Regions from separate parts of the Homo sapiens genome. Here region 2 is linked to region 1. The links are contacts of gene promoters, found by promoter capture Hi-C in human tissues and cell types (Jung and others, 2019). All regions are on one chromosome and are shown on one strand. The core of a region is centred on a gene start or on the middle of the fragment in contact, and the rest is flanking DNA. Distances in the headings are between cores, read along the strand shown.

Region 1 (3,768 bases), core at 310-2,809:
AACCGGCCCGCCCGCCGGCGCCTGGAGAGGGGCAGAGGGAGAAGCAGAGAGTTTATCATTCATCTGTACACATAGACGTTTCTTCTTTAAATAACACCACGGGCGGGAGCCCCATCTGCATGTGCGGTTGGTTTGGACAAAAATATAGATATATATATATAATAAAATATTAAAATTACCGACGGGCTCCCCGCGCTGCCAAGTGCCCCAGTGCCAAAGTTTTGCCGGCGCCGCCGGGGGCGGGGGCGAGGGCGCGGGCGCGGGCGCTCCCCGGAGTCTCAGCCCCGGCCGGCAGGGGGACGCGCGCGGGGGCCGCGCTAGCAGTGGCCGGAGGAGGCGAGCAGGGGCTCGGGCAGCTGCTTGAACAAGTTCCGCAGGGTGCTGAGCTCGCGCGACAGCTGCTCCACCTTCTTCTGCAGCCGCTCGTTCTCGGCCGTGAGCTCCAGGACCTTGTGCTGCGTCTCCAGGTTGCGCATCTTGGCCTTGTCGCGGCTCTTGCGCACGGCGATGTTGTTGCGCTCGCGCCGGATCTTGTACTCGTCGCTGTGCTTGTCCACGGTCTTCTTGGCCTTGCTCTTGACCTGCGAGGGCGCCGGCGCGGCCCCCGCGTAGCAGGCGGTCGGGGGCGCCTTGGCGTCAGCGGGGCTCGGCGTGCCGGGCGGGCTGGACGAGGAGGACGTGGAGAGGCTCCCGCTGCTGCCGCTCGGCACCGCCTGGTAGCCGAGGTAAGCGCGCAGCGCGTACGGGAAGCCCGCCGCCATGCCTGCGCCGCCGCCCGGCGCCCCGGCCTCCTCCTTCCGCTTGCAGTCCGCGGGCTCGAAGCCCGGCTCCGCCTTGAGCTCGGCGGGCGGCGGCGGCGGCGGGGGCGGTGGGTGCAGGGGCGCGAAGCAGCCGGGGTGCAGCGCGCCCTTGGCGGCCCCCAGGCGCCCCAGGCTCACGTAGCCGTACTCGGCCGGCTTCTTGCAGTTCTTGCCCCCGTAGTCGTCGGAGAAGAGGTCGGAGAGGAAGTCGTGGTGCTGCCCGGAGGAGGCGGGCGCGGGGGCGGGCGCGGGCGGAGCCGCCTCGAAGGTGTCCGTGGCCGTGGCGGGCGCCGGGGCCTGCGGCGCGCCCAGCGGCTCCAGGTACGGGCTGAAGTCGATGGCGCGCTCGTGGTCGCCGATGCTGCCCAGCTCGCCGGCGGGGGGGCGCGGCCCGGGTCTGGCCGCGGGGGGCGCCGCGGGGGCCGCCTTGCCGCCGTACGCAGCAGCCAAGCAGTCCGCCTCGTAGTAGAAGTTGGCCACTTCCATGGATTTAAAGGCAGGCGGCGGCGGCGGCAGGGGGAGACATGCTGGGTCCCAGGCCACCAGGCGTTGCATGAACGCGGGTGCCCGGGGAGGGGGCCTGGGGCTGCCCGCTCCGGCCGGCCCGCAGGTGGCGCGGCCTCCCTGCTCTGAGCTGTCGCCGCTGCGTCGCTGCTGCTGCTGCCGCCGCTGCCGGGGTGGCCGCTATTAGTGAGGGGGCTGGTGGCTGGACCCTCGGGTGGGTCCCCTTCCCAGTCCCGTGCGCGGCTCTGACTCGCTAAAGTTTCTCCTGAGCCCGGTTATTTATAAGGGCGGCCCGTAGCAACCGCTGCGTCACGCCGGCCCCTCCCGCCGCGCCGCCGGGACGCGAAGGACACGGCCGCGGCCGCCCGAGACCCCCGGGAGGACGGCGGCAGGGCGCAGCGGAGGGACCGGGCACCCGGAGCGCGTTTTCGGGGGGCCCCCGGGACGCAGGGGCGGCCTCACGCCCCCTGCCCACCCCCGCCCGGCCGCCCCGGGATTGGGAGCGAGAGGGGGCGGTGCGACCCCGCCCCCGGACCGCCCCTCTGGGCTGGAGGCTGTCCTGGAAGGCGGGGGAATCGGAGGAGGGGGCGACCTGATCGCCTTCCCCCCGAGACGCGGCCCCGGCCCGCCCCCTGCTGGAGGAGGCGGAGGTTTCAGGAGGGCCGAGCAGAGCCCCGACGGCCGACCAGGGTCGGCTCCCCGGGCCGAACCCTGGAGACCCCAGCCCGCAGCTCTAGCTCCAGGAGAAGCGACCCATCTCCGTGGCCCTTCCTCCCGTAAACTCCCACCTCCTCCCCAGGTCCCCGGCTTTAGAAAGAAGACTTGACGCCTGTGACGACTCCCCTCTTAAGCCACAGACAATATGAGGACCCCGGGGGTCGGCGCGACCGGGCAGGATCGCGCCCCGCTTGGGGCTGGACCCTGGTCCACGGAGCCCCGCCCCTAGCCCCGCCCACCACACCTGCCGCCTGCTCGAGGCTTGGACACGCCCGGGTCTTCTCTTGCCCCGCGCTGCGCCACCCGACCTGGGCCCTGGGATGGGGCAGGGGCGGGGGGTGCTCGGCCCTGCCACACTGTGTGACCTTGGGTGAGTCACTTCACTTCTCCCAGCTGCAATCCATGAAGGGTGTCGCTACTGTCAGTGGTGGTGGCATTGTTCCCACCAGACTCCCAAACCTAAGGCTTACGTTGTGGGCTGCACATCAGAGAGAACGGGACCCCCACGGATTGTGCCAGTGGAGGCCCAGAGAGAGCATGGCGTGGCATACCAAGGTCACATGGCCGCATGTCCCCCATTCATCCCAAATGAAATGCCCTCATCTGAGCCCTAAGACCTATTGCCAGTCCCAGAGGCCAAAAACTTCTGTTTCTGAAGTTGCTAGGGAGGGACTTAAGCGAGGCCTCACGGGAGGGGGTGGTATGCAGGAAAGAGAAGGAAAGAGAAAGATAAGTTTTTACCAAGTCCCTGCCCTGTGCTTACGGTGGGCCTGCACCCCGAGGTTCAACTTTTTTCACCCCACCAGGAAGATGCTTTTGCTGCTGCCATTTCACAGACGGGAAAGCGACAACGGCCCGCCTGGACTTGAACACAGGCCCAAGGCCTTCTGACCACTTGCCCGCCTCTGCTGGGTAGGCTCAGGTTAGAGGGCCCTTTGCCCTCCCGGACCCATTCCTAGGCCATTGGGGCAGCTCCCTGGGCCCACCTCTCTGCCACTCCTAGCCCAGGCCACCTAGGCAGGAGCTCCCAGCCTGCCCGGGGCTGATCCCCAGCCCACTGACCCCAGCCCTGGCCCCAGCGGGCAGGCGGGCATTGCTCAACCTTTGGTGTTATCTGCTGAGCTGGGGTGACCTCCGCCCCCAAGAGCTGGAGAAATGACATCTCTGGGCACCCTTGGTGGGTAGGAGGCAGGGAGGGAGGGGATAAAACACTGGCCCAGCCTGCTGGCTTTCTGGGTCTTCCCAGCAGCCTCTGGGTTGGGGAGGGATCAAGGCCCAGAGGGGTGCGGCAGCTTCCCTAGGGCCACCCGGCCAGCCCTTCCTCACTGCAAAATGGGACACTCAGGGCTGAGCTAGAGGCCACGGCTTCTGAGAGGCCCTCCCTGTCCCACCTGCTAGTGAATTTCCTTCCCTATCGCCAGCCACCATTATCCTAGCTGTCTACCTCAGTCTCCCTGCAGGCTGCCACTTGGGGAGGGCTGGCCCACGAGGGACTCCTGAGCACAGCACGCTCAACATTTACCAGTGAAGGAATGCATTTGCTGTTCCCTGTGCACCAAGAACACTGTCACCCCACCTCTGCCCAAGGCAGCTCCTCAGGTCTCAGCCCAAAAGCTGCCTCCTCCGGGAAACCCTCCCTGACCTTCCCATGGGAAGTCTAGGCCCTCAGTCACTCCTCTCACACCCCTGCTTCATTTCCGTCACCATTCTCATTATAATCAGAATTATCTTGCCTGCCAGTCTTGCT
Region 2 (3,619 bases), core at 895-3,394, 730 kb before region 1:
TTTTTAGTCCTGGGTCCTGTCATCTCTGTGTATTAATTCAGTCCTCTGCCTTAAGGAGTTCCTTGAGATTTCACTCACAAGCTTTGGTATTATTGATCCCTACCTTGGTTCCAAGACAGCAGCTAGAGAAAGCCTGGAACCTCTCAAGAATTTCAGCAGTGTTCTGGAAATAAAGATTTAGAAAATAAGAGGAAAGCATAGACAACGTTGGATGGAGTTTACAAAGGGAAGCCTGCTCTGAATATATGCCACAGTTTTAGATTTAAGTTAAAGATTTAATTTAAAAGCATACACGTAATCTAAAAGAGTCATGCATTATTTGACCAGCTGTTAGAATTAAAAATGAATCTGCATATCCTAATACCCTCTTCAGTAAGGGTATAGATTTGTAATTGAGTCACTTAGCTGTGGGTTGTGTTTATATGTCACTTCTCATGTGACTGTGATGACTTTAATAAGGATGTGCTGCTTAAGTGTAAAGGCCCCCTTGCTGGCCTTTATGGTATTATAGTATTGGTGGCTTGTCTGTTTTATTTTCCAAGCACTTTATAAACTATTCCCAATTTTCTCAGGACTATCCTTGTTTCACAAGTAGGGAAATCAAGGCACTACCACATACAATGATGAAATGAGCCACAGAGTATGTCTGGGCTGGTTCCCAGGCCTGTGCTTGCAACACAGGCCTTTATGGTGCTCTTGTAAGCTGTTTGGCTAATGGGGGCTCACATGAATGCTTCCCATTTCACAGTGAGGTTTTATGCTTCCATGTGAGCTTAAACCCAAGGATTCCAATGGCGTCTACATGTAAAGAAGCTAGCCACACCCCCAGCAGGGAGAGTATGGGTGTAAATTGTGCAGGTGGCAGTTAATTGGAGTAGCATATTTCTGCTGGGAAGTTAACTGTATAAGAATCTAAAAAGAAACGTTGTTTATGTTCCCTTTTCTTTTCCCAGTTTTTTAGTTTAAGACAGTCAGTCTGTCCTGAGCAGTTACTTTTTTCTTAGATAATTGCTGGCTTTTACCCTTTCTTTTTCTGAATCCTTCATGCTCCATTTAAGAGCTTGTGGAAACCTGTGCTTCAGTTGACAATCTGTAAAGCTCTGCTCTTCTGGTGGAAGCTCATGACCTGAGAACCTTTTGAGTGGTCTCTTTTGAGAAACTCCTGTCTAGTGGAAATATGGTGGAATTTATTAAAATTTTCAATTCGAATTATAAATTTAGGTTGACAGAATCCTTGCTCTTGTGAAAGAAGTGAGCTGAGACTGGGAGTATCCAAATGCAAGAAGTGCTCAGAATCCTGCTTCAAGATCAGTTACACTTAAAAACAGCAACAAGAGGATGGGTGCGGTGGCTTACATCTGTAATCCCAGCACTTTGGGAAGCCAAGGCTGGCGGGTCACCTGAGGTCAGGAGTTCAAGACCAGCCTGGCCAACATGGTGAAACCCCATCTCTACTAAAAATACAAAAGTTATCCTGGTGTGGTGGCACTCACATGTAGTCTCAGCTACTTGGGAGGCTGAGGCAGGAGAATCACTTGAACCTGGGAGGCGGAGGTTGCAGTGAGCCAAGATGGCACCACTGCACTCTAGCCTGGGTGACAGAGTGAGACTCAGTCTCAAAAAAAAATAAAAATAAAAAACAGCAACCAAAAAAAATGCAAATAAAACTTCTCTGAGGAAAGTGTGAAAACTTGAGCCATCAAGTGGCAAAACCTGGTACAAGAACGCTTTTGAAAAGCTACCTTCGGTGAAGCCTTGATCCTGGGAAATGGCTTCGAAAAACTTGAGAACATAGTTTAAATATTCTGTTACTCAAGAATAGTGAAAGAAATATATTTCCTATTGTGGGAAATTATTTCTGAGTAGTTTCGGTAGAGCATAAAAATGTATTATTAGGGGATCAAAATAACGTTTTATGTCATTTAGATACAAAGACTTGGCATGCTTCTGAAATAATTTATAAATGGACATATCTGCGTGTCCTCTTGTGGTGTTGTGATACATACTGGTTTTCATCCACCACGGTTCCTGGCTCATAACACCCATAACCCCATTACCGTGTTTTGTTATAATATAGGGTACGTTAGGTCTCAGAAAATAATCTCTGATCTTCTCCTGCTCTCCTTACACGTGTCCCAAGGCAAGATTCTGATCTTTACCCAGCTTTCTGATTGTAGGTCTTGAGATCCTCTCTAGAGAGAGGGTGTTGGCCCTATACCCCGGGGAAGGGAAGTAAGGTTTCCTATATGAAGCTTTTATAAAAACCCAGGAGGGCCAGGCGCGGTGGCTCACGCCTGTAATCCCAGCATTTTGGGAGGCTGGGGGCGAGCAAATCACAAGTTTAGGAGTTTGAGACCAGCCTGGCCATCGTGGTGAAACCCCATCTCTACTAAAAATACAAAAAAAATTAGCTGGGTTTAGTGGTGGGGGCCTATAATCCCAGCTACTCAGGAGGCTGAGGCTGGAGAATTGCTCAAACCCGGGAGGCAGAGGTTACAGTGAGGCGAGATTGCACCACTGCACTCCAGCCTGGGGGACAGAGTGAGATTCTGTCTTTAAAAAAAAAAAAAAAAAACGCAGGAGGACTGGGTTCAGAGAGCTTCCAGATAGTTGAACACACCTGGAGGGTGGCGCCCCCAGAGAGGGTATGGAAGCCCAGTGCCCTTACGCATTTCTTTATCTGTACTTTTTATAATAAACCGGTAAACATAAGTGTTTCCCCAAGTTTTGTGAGATGCTCCAGCAAATTAATAGAACTCAAGGAGGGGGTCTTGGGAACCCCAGCTTGAAGTGTCAGTCAGAAGTTCTGGAGGCCCAGACTTACAGTTGGAGTCTGAAGAAGGAGAGAGCAGTTTTGGGGACTGAGCCCCCATCTTGTGGAATATGACACTGTATCCAGGTAGACAGTGTCAGAACCAAATTAGAGGATACTCAGCTGGTGTCCGCTGCTTGGGAAAAAACCCTACACGTTTGGTCACAGAAGACAACTTCACGACTTCTGTGTGGTGTGAGGGCAGAGGAAAAACAAAGTTTGAGAGTTTTCCCCTAAAGCACCCCTTAAGGGCTACTTGTGAATTATTTCCCTTTTTCACATTGATCTTAAGCCAGATTGTCCACTTACAGCGACAGCAAGTGGCTGTATGCCTGTGGAGTTCTTATGTAGGCAGTGGAGTGCTAGAATCACTCTTTATGCTGTGTCCCTGCCTTGCTGCAATACCTGTTTAGAGTGAAGTAAACTGGGAAGTGCTCCTCACCTCACACTCTCCCTAAATCTAAATTGGTATATTATAAAGTATCCTCAGTCTGTTTTTCTTGTTTAAGTACCGAGGCATCTTCCCCCGCTTTCAAATACAATTTTAGGTGAACTCTTAAATTGATGAAGGGTCGGGGGGCCAGACCTCTGGCTGCCCAGCTTTCACCTTGTCCCTCAGGCATCATCTTCCCTCTGTTTGTATACATATCTTAAACTCTTAGAGGAGTTCAGCCTGAAAACAACTGGTTCTACTGGTGTACTGGAAATTCTGGTGGTCACTGCTAGAATTCTTGCCTGAAATCTGAATACGGAAAGTATCAGGATAAGCAGCAACACAGTAGCAGTTTTCCAGTTGTGGGCACCAGT

What was found. Contacts are between HindIII fragments. The study calls those that stand out against the background at their distance.
Region 2: a fragment that was not itself captured here is called in contact with the fragment with the promoter of CEBPB in region 1 in 1 of the 25 tissues and cell types used here (dorsolateral prefrontal cortex).

What each region holds. Positions count from the first base shown.
Region 1 is chr20:50,188,621-50,192,388 of GRCh38, reverse strand. CEBPB (CCAAT enhancer binding protein beta) reads right to left here and starts at 1,559. Exons shown (of 1, transcript NM_005194.4): 1 at 1-1,559. The coding sequence starts at 1,355. The coding sequence ends at 318. It overlaps CEBPB-AS1 (CEBPB antisense RNA 1), which reads left to right and starts at 320. Exons shown (of 7, transcript NR_125739.1): 1 at 320-725; 2 at 967-1,121; 3 at 2,104-2,391; 4 at 2,828-2,933; 5 at 3,762-3,768. RefSeq lists silencers at 217-326, 747-1,186, 1,327-1,536, 1,363-1,657, 1,617-2,026. The HindIII fragment of the contact is 25,644 bases long and covers 1-3,768 here.
Region 2 is chr20:50,921,535-50,925,153 of GRCh38, reverse strand. The region is part of intron 2 of ADNP (activity dependent neuroprotector homeobox); the gene reads left to right. Among named protein-coding and RNA genes, the nearest start is that of ADNP-AS1, 7.6 kb to the left of the region's middle. The HindIII fragment of the contact is 7,393 bases long and covers 1-3,619 here.